Regions from separate parts of the Homo sapiens genome. Here regions 1 and 3 are each linked to region 2. Evidence: promoter capture Hi-C in 16 types of primary human blood cells and fetal thymus (Javierre and others, 2016). All regions are on one chromosome and are shown on one strand. The core of a region is centred on a gene start or on the middle of the fragment in contact, and the rest is flanking DNA. Distances in the headings are between cores, read along the strand shown.

Region 1 (4,575 bases), core at 1,242-3,741, 3.4 Mb before region 2:
AAGTGAGCATGTGCTGCTGGAAAAAGGGCACCAATAAACTTGCCTGACGCAGTGTTGCCACAGACCTTCAATTTGTGAAAGACACATTATCTTTGAAGCACAGTAAAGTGAATCACAATTAAGGTATACCTGTATTCACCTGTCCCTCATGCTCCATGACTTCTCAGCAAGACTTCCTCCAAGTCATCTTTCTCTAATGCCGATAACTGGACTTTCCCCTCCTTTACTCTTTCTTTTTTAACCTACTACTGCTTTGTACGTTCTCTGCATTACTGAGTTTCTCAAGTGAGTTGAAGGCAGGGTGTTTAGTGGCAAGTGGTATTTTGGAGGTAGGAGTGAGAAAAAAACACAAGGCTAGTGATGGCAGTTTTCTCCTCACTTTCTTTGGTTCCTCTTCCAACTAAAAAGAAAAGCAAATAAGAGAAAGGGTGCACATTAAAAAGGGATACCGGCCGGGCGTGGTGGCTCACGCCTGTAATCCCAGCACTTTGGGAGGCTGAGACGGGTGGGTCACTTGAGGTCAGGAGTTCGATAGCAGTCTGGCCAACATGGTGAAATGCCGTCTCTACTAAAAATACAAAAATTAGCCGGGTGTGGTGGCATACGCCTGTAGTCCCAGTTACTCGGGAGGCTGAGGTGGGAGAATTTCTTCAACCCAGGAGGCAGAAGTTGCAGTGAGCCAAGATCGCGCCATTGCACTCCAGCCTGGGCAACACAGCGAGACTCTGTCTTAAAGAAAAAAAAAAAAAAAGGTACCATCACCACTTACTTGGGACTTGTGGTGTGTGAATTTCAAGTGTTCTTTCTCATATAGGGAAACCAGGTCCCTATTCATCAGTACCTGAGATGAAATACTCAGCATAGCCCAGCTGGGTATTTCACTTAAATGAAGATGAAGCCAACTTTAGCTGAAGCAACTTTGTTGTCCTTTATCAAGACTGAGTAAGGGTGGGGGAAAATAAAATATTTTTTGACCGAGGAAGCTTTTTATCTCCTGAACATTTTCAGAGACATCTACTTGGACTTGAGAAGGCTGCTAGATTTCTCCAGGCTATAAGTCCTGTCAATCTCCTATATATAAGATAGAGATGTTTTCTTTTACCCTAGTGTTTATCTCCACAAGTTCCTTCCCCACGATAGGCTTAGGGTAGGGGCCTCACTATTCACCTGCCTGGTAAGAACTAAAAGACCCAAGTCTTCAATTCTAGCCGTGATGTAAGAAACAGGAATAGTTTTACCTAAAATTTTGTCAGTCCTGCTAATTTAAAATTTAGGCTTTTTGCTAGTTAGTGTTAAAGGATATTGTAGGTTAAGAAGGTTTTTGTCAGCTTCCTGGAGATCTAACCTCAGTATAATATTGTATAACATCATTTCTGTGAGTAAATATTTGTTAACTCTCAATAAGTGGAGTTTTATAAACTCAATGATATTTAAGGTGCAGGGTATTTAGTCTAAAAATTTACGTATAGTTTGTGCACTAGGGCTACTAAATCTAATTCACACAAAAGCACCACATTGCAGAATCCTAAGGAACAATCAAAGGTGGAATCAGTAGAGGAAGGTGTTATTAGGTGGTGTGAATTTGAGGAAGAAAAAGGAGGAAGAAGGGATTAAAAAAAAGCTTTTTATTAAAGGAATAAAGAATCGAGCATCATCTCGATGAAGGATTGTCAAGATTCTTAAAGCTGAACATGTGCTAAAGTATAACAACTGGTGGATTGGTCTGAGCATCTAGGTAATTTGTGGGTGGATTAGTCTTTGCTGGTTAATCGTCCTGTTGAGGCTTTTACATGCTACAGAGTAGCTGTTAGGTGTGTCACTGCAGTAAAATCTGATTGCATTATTGTCTAGGTTATAAGTTTGTTGCTGAGATCATTGAATGCTGTGGTAGCAAACGTCTCATAAGAGCATGAAATGGTTTTTAGCAGCAGCCTCGAAGCTACTGGATGTATATAGAATAATGGAAAGACTGGTGGATATTCATACATTAGATATTTGAGGATATATTGTGAGCAAGGACTTGTTGTCACCTAGAGGCAAGATTTTTTAGCAGAAACATGACTAATAAATCACTACACAAACTGCTGTGGAAGCATATGTTAAGTCCCACAGGGAGCTCAAATGAAGGAGTCAGTAGGGGAAGCTTTTACAGAGGACTTACATTTAAGCTAGATTTTTACAGGCAGTTTTCTAGGCAAAGTAGGGAAAAGAAGGACATTTCCAGTCAGAGTTAAAAGCATATTAGGAATGAAACACCAATGGTTGTTTGGGGGAACTAAGAAGATACTGGTCTGCTAGAGTGAGTATACTGAGAGCAAGTGGTAAGGATTGGAAGAAGATAAGATTGGAACATCTGGTGTTTTGAGATTAGATTGGAAATATTTTATCCTCTGAACCAGGATTCCTTGTAGGCCGATTGTTTTGTTTTGCTTGGCCATGTATATTGTACTTCTTAAAAACAATCTGAAAATTTCAAATGATGGAGAATAATATGAAGTGAAAAGTAAAAGTTTTTTTCTGCTTTCCTAAACCTCTGTTATCACTCCTCAAAGGTTACCGGTTAATATTTTGTTGTCTTCTTTCATAAAATGTTGTATGCAGACACAGTATATTTGTCTTTTTTATCATACTTTTTAAAAAAAGTTTTAGGGGGTAATCTTTTTAATTTTTAAAATTATGTTGTTGTTAGAATCATACTTTAGATGTAGTCTGTGTTTTGCTTTTTTCACTTAACACTATAAATCAGGAGACTGTTTTAAAAAGATAACTGGCTTCAGTATAGAGTATAGCATGGTAAGCATTTATTCAATAAATTACTTATGGCAGGCATAGTGTCTGCTAAGCTTTTCCTCGACCCTGAGGATACAGTGATGGGTATCATTTAGGAAGCCATTTCCGTAGTGCACGTGAATGTTAATGGAGTCCCAAAAGGTAATGGGAATGGATGTAAGAACTGTATTGAGATAAAATTGATAAAAATAGCCCATCAATTGTCTGTGGGAAATGAGAAATCAGAATATATTTAGGATGATTTCAAGGTTTACAATTCAGGAATTCAGTAAAACACATTAGGGAAATAGGTGTGTTTATTTGTATATATCTGTGTATCTTTGTTTTGGGGAGGGGGAGGGTTCGTGATATGAAGGAGTTCATTTTGAACATAGTGTTTTTGAAGGATGTTCAAGTTATTGAGGTGAAAATTTCTGATAGGCAGAGGAAATAAAGTTCAGAGCTCAGGAGAGGTAAGAAGTAGAGTTGGAAATTTTTTCTTTTTTTGCTTTTCTTTGTGTGTGTGTGTGTGTGTGTGTGTGTGTGTGTGTGTGTATTTGTAATAGCTAAATCCTTGGGAATGAGTACAATTGCCCAGGGAGAAGAGGGCTCGAGGATAAATTAGCAAAGGAGACTGAGCAGTGGTCATAGAGGAACGACAAGAATCGAGAATATCACTTTCGGAGCCAAAGGATGAGAGGGTTTCAAAGGAGTGGTCAGCGGTGTCCCATAATACAAATGGGTCAGATGGGGAAGCACTGGAAAGAGGCTATTGGATTTGTTGACTACATGTTCAATGTAACCTTAGAGGTTTCAGGAGCTATCATAAGATGGAAAGATTCATTTGGAGGAGGCAGGGCAGTAAACAAGAAAAGGTGGGCAGTGGTTAATCAGAAGCAGGTGAGTTTATTTATAGCTTTTCTTTTAGCTTGGGCAGTTCTGAGTATGAACTTTATTTTTCCGGAGGCCTCTTAGCCAAAATGTGATAGACAACATAGGAGTAAGCTTCTGAGAAGTTAAGACACATGTCACAAATTCAGGGTAGCATAGCCCATATACCAGTCCACACACATTGATTTCTCTGGTTTCTCAGGCCGTACTGGTTAGAAACAACAGAAGAGGGGTGTGTGTGTGTGTGTGTGTGTGTGTGTGTGTGTGTGTGTGTGTGTGATGAGAGGCAAGCATGCTGACAGCCTCAAGAAGTAAATAGCACATAACCTTTCAGTGAGGGAAGAAGAGACCAGAACACACACACACAGGCAGAAGAAATGATGAAGATTTACTTAGCCTAGTAGAGTGTCCATTTACTGCTGAGGCAAAAAAAACCTCAGGAACTGCATATACTTAAAGTACCCTCTGCCCACCAGGTGCCTTTCTCCTAGTGAGTTCTTTCCTACTTTTTGCAGTGTTAATTCCTGCTCTCCCTTCAGTTATGGGCTCAATTGTCTTTCCCTCAGGAGAACCATTAGTGACTCAGGCCCCTTTGTTATATGAGGCTTCACAACTGTGTTTACTGTCTTTGCAGCAGTTATCTCCGTGTGCAATTCTGAGCTCATTTGCGTGGTTATTTAATTGTGTATCTCCACTTAACTCTGGGCCGTTTGTTTACAATGGGCCCAGAGTACATAAGTGGTATTCAAAATAAATGTGCCAAGGCATATTTAAATGAATCTGAATGCACCTCTTTTCAGCTGTCATCCTGTGCCTCCTCCATCTACAAAGCCATTAATATAAAAGAGACCAATATTTCCTATAAACTTCCCTATATCTGTACCAACATTATTAAAATATTCCTAGACAATTTGA
Region 2 (4,126 bases), core at 715-3,214:
CTGTAATCCCAGCTACTAGGGAGGCTGAGGCAGGAGAATCGCTTGAACTCAGGAAGGCGGAGGTTGCAGTGAGCCGAGATCACGGCATTCCACTCCAGCCAGGGCGACAGAACGACGCTCCGTCTCAAAAAAAAAAAAAAAATTGCTTGGCAAAAAGATCTGTATCACTTAAAACTCCCTCCAAAAGTGAAGGGTAGCCATGTCCCTCATCGCGAGTCACCTGGGTTAAATTACTAATCTGTAAATGTTAAATTTCGCCAATCTTCTTAGTGTTTCAATTCGGAGAGTCATGTTGTGAAATGCCAATCTCTTAGTCCACCTTTTAAAAAACTTTGCAGGGGTTCTCCAAGGCCCTCAGAATAAAGTCCAGATTCCTTTGCAGAGCTAACAGGATACAGGAGACTCCCTGCTCCAGGAAACTTCTAGGGGCTTCTCTCCTGGGGCCTGTTCCCTGGTTTTGGGAGCGCTCGGGCGACCGCGAGCCAGAGCAGCGTCTCGCTCATCTCGGACCCAGGCCTGGGGCTCCACTGACGCCGACGGAGCCGGGCTGCTGCGGGAGTGGAGCCCTGGGGGACCAGAAGGGGCTTTCACTTCGCTCCTGGGCCTCCCGAGTTCCAGGCTCGGGCTAGCCCCGCGCAGGGAGGCGAGCGGGCCCGGCTCCCCAGAGGCCGAGGCCGGCGCCCGTGCTCCTTCAGCTCGGCCTCTCTCCCCCGACATAGGCGCTCCACATGCTTCATTTCCAAAATTCTCAGCAAAACTCCGCGGGAGACCCTGGTCACATGCCTGGAACGAGAACAAACCGGGGCGTGTCTGTGCCGGACGGCTGGGAACCAAAGCTATTTCCATAGAAATAGGGCCGGCCAGCCTTGAGTTGTAGCCCCGCCAGTGCCTGAAACGCCAGGAGGAGGGGACGAGTTGCCTTTTAAAGGCGTAGCGACGAGAATAAGCCCCCACCCGCGGCAATTCGAGGCTGAACAATAGTGGTGCAGCTCGGGACGTGGTGCGAGGGCCCACACTCCACTGGAGCACGCGCGGACCACCGTGCCTCAGCTGCCACAAAGGGAGCCTCGCCACACGCCCGCGGCCGCCTCGCAGCGCCCGCCAAGAAGCGCCTGGCGGAAGGGCGCACTCTCAGGCCTTCCACCGGCGACCTTCCGGCGGGAGCCTGCGGGCGGCGCAGGAACGACCCTCCTTCCTCTGCCCCGCAGCAGTGCTGAGTAATGGTGAGAGCAGCAAGGCCCTTGGCCGCCGCACGTAAGAAAAAAGTTGTAATAAAAAGAAAACAACCCGGGAAACTTTACTAGTTGGTTCGCCAGGTACAAACCTATGCGGAAAAGGCGGGGTACAGGCCTCGGAGGCCGGACCCAACCAGTCAGGGAAAGAAAGAGGGCAGAAGCCGCAGGCTGCACAGCCTCACAACCGCCCAGAGGGCACGGCGGCCCTGGGGCTCGGTCTCTTCCGAGCAGAGCAACCTCCGTGTCTATCAGCTCCTTCCGGCGTTGCGATTGGCCACAGGCTGTCTTGGCCTCTCGGACGCCCGCCTCCTAGTTGCTAGGGGTTTACTTCCCCAAAGTACACGGGCCCCACCTTGTGGCGCAACCGCTCCTGCATGGAAAACGGATCTCCGCCCAGGGGAAGACGTGTTAACGAATAAGAGCAGCCCCACACATTTATTGGCTACTTTGAGTATCAGTCAAAGAACTGCTCACTCGCCTTTCTATTGTACTTTTCGGTTATTGGTCTCTCTTAGTGCCGATCTGTTACTAGGGAAACGAGATCCTCACAGTCTCATAGGCAGGAGTCAAAGCCAATCAAGAGCCACGCCTTCATCCCCGAGTCAGTGCCCAATTACTGTTCGAAGAGCCCTGAGGACGCGGTCGGGATTGGTCATCCCGTCGCCCGACCTGGCCGCAACAAGTTAGGGTGAGTGGCAGTTATATAGACCGGCGGCGGAGCACGCGTGTGTGCGGACGCAGTTGCGTGAGGGGTTTGTACTATCCTCGGTGCTGTGGTGCAGAGCTAGTTCCTCTCCAGCTCAGCCGCGTAGGTACGCCGGGGTGTGGGCGGGGCAGGGAGGCCAGAGGACTAAGCCGAGCCGCAGCACTTGTGAGAGGGAGAAGTCTGAGTGGCGCTCGCGGCGGCCGCGCCAGTCGCGTCCCCCACCCCAACCCCCACCCCAACGGCCGCAGGCGCGCGCGGCGGACGGACGGGCGCGCGGCGGCTCCTCGCTCCCGCTCCCGTCCCGGCTGGGGCGCGTGGCCGTGTCCGCCGCGTGCGCGTGCTGCGTCCAACGGCCTCGCGGGGCAGGAGTAAGCCGCGGCCGCCGCCTGGGCCCCAGGGCGGTCTCTGGGGCCAGGGGTCCCGCGCCCAGCGTTTCCCGCCCGCCACCCTCTCCGCCACGCGCCCGCGGCACCTTTTCCTCCCCTGGCCAAGGGATCCAGTCGGTTCGGACCAGAAGGAGGCTTTCGTTTAGGGTGGGGGCAGCACTAAAGTCTGATTGGAGTCTTGCGGTCCGCGCGTCGCAGAAGCGCCTTCGGTTTTGCAGAGAGCAAAGAGGGAGCAGCGAGTGCACGGAGTGGTAGTAACAACCAATGTTCTTTCCACGCCCTCACTGTGTGTCCGGCACTGTGCGGAGCCACTTTTCTGCCTTTCATTTGATTCTTGCAGTGAGCTGGCGAGGTGGGTACGGCTATCCTCCTTCCTTAGCGGCCCAAGGCACGGGTTTGGAGAGCGGGGTCACAGGCACGCACGGGAAGGGCGGGGATTTGTTGACGCCGGGCCCTCTGACTCCGAGCTCCCCGCTTCCCAAGCCTGTTTTTAGTCTTTGCCCCCAGAGCACTTGTCCCTCGGGGCAGCATCAGCCTCAAAAGGCCACCTGCCGAGAAGGCTGCAGCGGCATTTGTACTTGGGCTAGTTCTGGGCTTCCAGGGAGACAAGGGTTGGAAGTGGGAATGTGACAAAGGAAAAGGGTTTGGGCTTCCTTTCTACGTGTACTTGTACAGGCCCTGGGTAGATGTGCCGCCACCGTAGCTTCTGGAAAAAAGTAGGGAAAACGATGAGTAAGTGCAAATGAACATGGACTGTGTTCCTCATCGGGTTTGAATCTCAGATTGCTGATGGGAAATTCCCGCCAGCGGGAAGTTAGGCTCCGGTTTTAGACGTTGAATTTTTTTTTCTCTACTTTTTTTTTAATTGGAGGAGACTTTTGCAGAAAGACCTTGAGAAGATTCACTTTATAGTTGAAGGGAATGAGGTGCAAAGCGACGAATTTAAGATCTCACTAGCATCTGTGGGTTAAAATACGGAATTGGAATAGAAAGGTTGGCGCCCAGTTACAGTATACTATTTGGACCTCTGTGGAGCGTGTCATGCTGGATGAATTACTGGTGTTGGAGATGTGTTGGAAAAAACAACTGTGACAGTCGAGATCTGTGGATGAAAGTTTGTGTACACTCCGTTTATTTAGCATTTACTCTGCTGGGTTCTTGTGTATATGCAGAAACAAGATGCTTTTCTTCAGGGACTGGAGCTTATATTTTTCTAGTAGTTACCATCTTTTAGATTATTTAAAAGCCAACATACTCCTTGGCTTAGTGAAATAAATCTTCTATGTTATAGAAACACTTCTATAAACATAAAGATTTCTATAATCGTGTTCTGGAAACCCTTTCTATAAACATGTTTCTATAACAGTATTATAATAATGTTCCAAGTAACATTTACTTGGAACTTTGCTGGTGTGGCGATTCCGGTTACTTGCCCTTACAGACTGGTTAACTATGGAATTAGCATTTTAACTTAGACTTAAAGTTGAGCAATTTAAGTTGTCAAATGGAAAAACACTAGAATGACCTACATTTAAACTGTTTAAGCTTGAGTCCAGCTAATTTTATTACTGCTTGAGGCAAAATAGAATGAAATTACCTTACACATTATTGAGGGAAAATTTCGTTAGTTTCTACTTAAAATATTAAAAAAATACAGTTCTTGGCCTCAGGCAAATGGTTATCACTTGGGCAGGAACATGAAAATTACGTGATTATTTCACAAACTGGTGCTCTAACTGATTACTTGTGCATTTATCAGGAACAAGTGAATTGAAGCAAATTGTGGTAATGTAAGGCTT
Region 3 (4,464 bases), core at 1,232-3,731, 3.1 Mb after region 2:
CTTTGGGAGGCCGAGGCAAGTGGATCACTTGAGGTCAGGAGTTCGAGACCAGCCTGGCCAACATGGTGAAACCTGCCTCTATTAAAAGTACAAAAATTAGTCAGGTGTGATGACATGCACCTGTAATCCCAGCTACTCGGGAGGCTGAGGCAAGGGAATCACTTGAGCCTGGGAGGCGGAGGTTGCAGTGAGTGAAACCCTGTCTCTTTTTCTTTTTCTTTCGAGACGGAGTCTTGCATTGTCACCCAGGCTGGGGTGCAGTGGTGTGATCTCAGTTCACTGCAACCTCTGCCTCTCGGGTTCAAACAATTCTCTGCCTCAGCCTCCCAAGTAGCTGGGATTACAGGTGCCTGCCACCACGCCTGGCTAATTTTTTGTATTTTTAGTAGAGACAGGGTTTCACCATCTTGGCCAGGCTGGTCTTGAACTCCTGACCTCGTAATCCACCTGCCTTGGCGCCCCAAAGTGCTGGGATTACAGGCGTGAGCCACTGTGCCTGGCCGAGCCTTTCTATACTATTAGTTTTTTTTTCTAGTTTGGTATATTTTCAGGGCTTTAGGAAGGCTGGGAGGTGGTGATGTGGTAGTGGTTTTTTTCTTTTTTGAGATGGAGTCTTCGCTATGTTGCCCAGGCTGGAGTGCAGTGGTACGGCCTTGGCCCACTGCACCCTCTGCCTCCTGGGCGCAAGTGATTCTTCCGCCTCAGCCTCCCAAGTAGCTGGGATTACAGGTATGTGCCACCATGCCCGGCTCATTTTTGTACTTTTAGTAGAGATGGGGTTTTGCCATGTTGGCCAGGCTGGTCTCGACCTCCTGACCCCAAGTGATCTGCCCGCCTCAGCCTCACAAAGTGCTTGGATTCCAGACGTGAGCCATTGCACCCGGCCAGATGTGATAATATTTATACTTGTCATGACTTCTAGCATAACTCTCACCATGGTTCTCTGTCCCATTCTGCAGTTGTTTTTTGAGGACAGCATTGATGATGCCAAGTACTGTGGGCGGCTCTATGGCTTAGGCACAGGAGTGGCCCAGAAGCAGAATGAGGATGTGGACTCTGCCCAGGAGAAGATGAGCATCCTGGCGATTATCAACAACATGCAGCAGTGATGGCGCCAGGCTCTGCAGGGTGGGCCTGATCCCAGAGTGGTGCTTACTGTGCTGACTGTGTACTTATCTTCCCCAAGAGAAAATGCTTCTTTTGAGCACACTGTACCTACCATCTGCATTGAGCAGAAAGACTTTTGTTTTACTGAAGACAAAAGATGTTTTTATTTTAGACCCAGAAGAGAGGAGTTTGCTCTGAATTTGTAAATAAGTCTTCCCCATTCCTCATACTCGAGCCTCTCCTCTCTGGTTGCCTCCTGCCACCAGCATCCATGGCTCATTTGACACCTTTTTAAATATCAGGACAAGTCTGAAACAAAGTAGTAAAATGTATATAACTCTTACCTGTTGTCATTCTTTTTCTTTTAAATTTGTTGCTAATCTCTGATAATGAAGATTCTTACTCTGATTCTCAGCTGAGCTGTGAGGGCTTCCAGGGAAAATGGAACAAAATGGTGTTCTTAGGTAATGGGTTGTAGATACTGAGTCTTCCTTTCCTTTTCTGACCCTTCTCGAGGACATTTGCTTTCCTCACACTTTTGTAGTCTCTCTTTACATATTACTATATGGAAATGAATTGCTCTGTGCTGAAATTTGAAGACCAGATAATGAAACTGAAAAGCAAACAATTTTACTGAATCTGTCTACCCTTCATTCATGAGAACTCCAGAATGAGTGTTGACCACTGAAGCATCTTTTAAGTCTGTGTTCCATTGTGCCATTCAGGTTTGCTGTCACATATGCATCATCTGAAATCATTTGAAATTTTTGTACAATAAAATATCCTGGATTTGATCCTGAAGGAAACTAGTAAGATCAGATTTTTGGGTCATGTCTGTTGTATTTTCAGTAATGTGATTTCAGATGGTCATCTGGATTCTCCCACTTCTCTACTCCATTATTTCTCTACTTTTCCTTCCAGCAAACCTGAAACGTGAGGGAGATGGATTAATGTGAGTAACAGGAATGTGTCTTTAAAAAGCTAGAGTGGTTACATTTAATCAGGCAGTAAGATAATTTGGGTTCTTGAGTTGTTTTGGAGTAATATCCCACAACTGGGGTAGGAAGCTCAGGACTTTTTTCTTTAAAGCTAGTCATTTCAAAAGCATATTGTATTTTTTTGAATGACTACAGTATGGACAATTTCAAAAACCAAAACCCACTTTGGATTGGTGGAAGTAAAAACTGGTAACTCACTCAAGTGAATGAATGGTCTTGCATTTTAAAAGCTTATGGGAAACTCAATTTGAAATGATTAGAAAATGTCAAGTATTATAAGCTGGTATTTAAGATGCTTGTAAATACTATTTATGTTTTTAATTTTGTAAAATAAAGATTTCTTTTTAACCACTGGCATTAAGGTTTGGTCTTTCATAGCTATGGATTGCTGGCTCTGGAAGATGGTCATTTGCCATCAGTGAAATAAGAGCATCTTGCCTCCATTGTCCCCAAGTTGGCTTACATACAAAATATCACTTGGGGGGTGGGTTCGGGAATAAAAAAAATACATATCACTTGGTAGGAAGCTTTTCACGAGCACCTGTGTAAATGGAATTGTCTCTTCATACTCAAGATTGTTGGGTCTTAATATTATAGAATTAAACCAGTCTAATATTTCCTGGGGTCACTCCACTATATATGGTGGATTAGCTTGTTAATTAGTGGGATTCTTTTAAACAACCTGAACTTCAGATATCCTAGAGTTGGCTCAAGACTTTGTTTCCAGCCATTTCTGTTGACACAAAATATGTGGGGTTTTAAGAAGTCTGGTACAGGGGCAGATATGGAATTGTGACTGGGAAGTTGACAAAACAAGAGATTTATCACTGTAATTTCTGGTGAAACAGCAGTCAGTGGTTCTCAACCAGGGTGCCCTGGCATGCTGGTGACTGTGAGCGCTATGCAGATACCCTTCCAAATTTGAATTAAAGCAGGACATTTAATATTTTCTACAATTAAGGACTTACTTACATGTCAGGAGAAATGCTCAAAGGGTTGAGGAACTCAGTGTTGAGTGTGGGGTTTGGTCATCATTGCATGTGAGAGTTAAGAGCTTAGAGTAGTGCTTTAGCAAGAAAGAGCACAAGTCTTGGAACTGGCAAGAACTTTGTGTGTATGAGTGCATATAGGTCTATGTGAATGCTCATCCTCAAAAAGTGATGGCACTGTAGGGTAACCAAGAGAATCACTTAAGGTGTAATTCTTTCGAGGTTTAGACAGGGTCTCACTCGGTCATCCAGGCTGGAGTGCAGTGGCATGATCTTAGCTCACTGCACCCTCACCCTCCTGAGTAGCTGGGACTACAGGTGCATGCTACCATGTCCAGCTAATGTTTATATTTTTTTAGTAGAGATGGGGTTTCACCATGTTGGGCAAGCTGGTCTCAAACTCCTGACCTCAAGTGATTTGCCTGCCTTGGCCTCCCAAAGTGCTTACAGTCATGAGCCACCGTGCTGGCTTGTAATTCTTTTTTTTTTTTTTTTTTTTTTTTTTTTTGAGACAGAGTCTTGTTCTGTCGCCCAGGCTGGAGTGCAGTGGCATGATCTTGGCTCACTGCAACCTCCGCCTCCCAGGTTCAAGCAATTCTCCTGCCTCAGCCTCCCAAATAGCTGGTGCCAGAAACAGTCAGTTCCTCTTCAAACTTCTTTGTTTCTTTTAGCGACTAATGTCATTTCACATTGCTAGAAGATACATTCTTGTTCTCTAAACAAGCCTTTCCATCTTTGCCATGCCTAAACATGCCCAAACATGCCTTAACGGACAATCCCTCCCTCCCCTCCTTTCTTTTCTTTACAAGTTACGCATTTAGGCTGGGCACAGTGGCTCACGCTTGTAATCCCAGCACTTTGGGAGGCCAAGGCGGGTGGATCATGAGGTCAGGAGATTGAGACCATCCTGGCTAACACAGTGAAACCCTGTCTCTACTAAAAACACAAAAAATTAGCCGGGCATGGTGGTGGGCACCTGTAGTCCCAGCTACTTGGGAGGCTGAGGCAGGAGAATGGCGTGAACCCAGGAGGTGGAGGTTGCAGTGACCCAAGATCGCGCCACTGCACTCCAGCCTGGGCAACAGAGACAGTCTCAAAAAAAACAAAAAACAAAACAAAAAAAAAACAACAAGTTACGCATTTAAATGTTTCAGTTTACTCTGTTTGGAAAAGTTTTACCACTCCTACCCCTTCTTCCCCATCTACCCTATTTGGAAAAATTTCAAGTTTTAGCCAATCGGGTTAGCTTACATTGTGTGGTCCGACTACAGCCAATGGGGAAAGGACACAGAAACAGAAGCTGCATTAGGGATAAAAACTTTTCTCCTTTGTTCAGTGTGCTCTTGCGATCATGACTGTTGCAGGCAGCA

Evidence for each region. The method cuts DNA at HindIII sites, captures the fragments that hold promoters and counts their contacts. A CHiCAGO score of 5 or more calls a contact.
Region 1: a contact is called between a fragment that was not itself captured here and the fragment with the promoter of G3BP1 in region 2, in 3 of 17 cell types (fetal thymus, naive CD8 T cells and total CD8 T cells). The highest score is 7.5, in fetal thymus.
Region 3: a contact is called between a fragment that was not itself captured here and the fragment with the promoter of G3BP1 in region 2, in 1 of 17 cell types (M2 macrophages). The highest score is 8.0, in M2 macrophages.

What each region holds. Positions count from the first base shown.
Region 1 is chr5:148,389,297-148,393,871 of GRCh38, forward strand. All of the region lies in intron 1 of FBXO38 (F-box protein 38), which reads left to right. Among named protein-coding and RNA genes, the nearest start is that of FBXO38, 7.6 kb to the left of the region's middle. The HindIII fragment of the contact is 700 bases long and covers 2,142-2,841 here.
Region 2 is chr5:151,769,990-151,774,115 of GRCh38, forward strand. It overlaps G3BP1 (G3BP stress granule assembly factor 1), which reads left to right and starts at 1,965. Exons shown (of 12, transcript NM_005754.3): 1 at 1,965-2,047. LOC100652758 (a long non-coding RNA gene) reads right to left here and starts at 2,187. Exons shown (of 2, transcript NR_132345.1): 1 at 1,714-2,187; 2 at 1-783. RefSeq lists enhancers at 52-773, 1,152-1,381, 1,639-1,933 and silencers at 2,142-2,471, 2,522-2,591. The HindIII fragment of the contact is 14,997 bases long and covers 1-3,870 here.
Region 3 is chr5:154,874,331-154,878,794 of GRCh38, forward strand. It overlaps CNOT8 (CCR4-NOT transcription complex subunit 8), which reads left to right. Exons shown (of 7, transcript NM_001301073.2): 7 at 960-2,462. The coding sequence ends at 1,109. LOC124901119 (a long non-coding RNA gene) reads left to right here and starts at 4,429. Exons shown (of 2, transcript XR_007059011.1): 1 at 4,429-4,464. The HindIII fragment of the contact is 297 bases long and covers 2,334-2,630 here.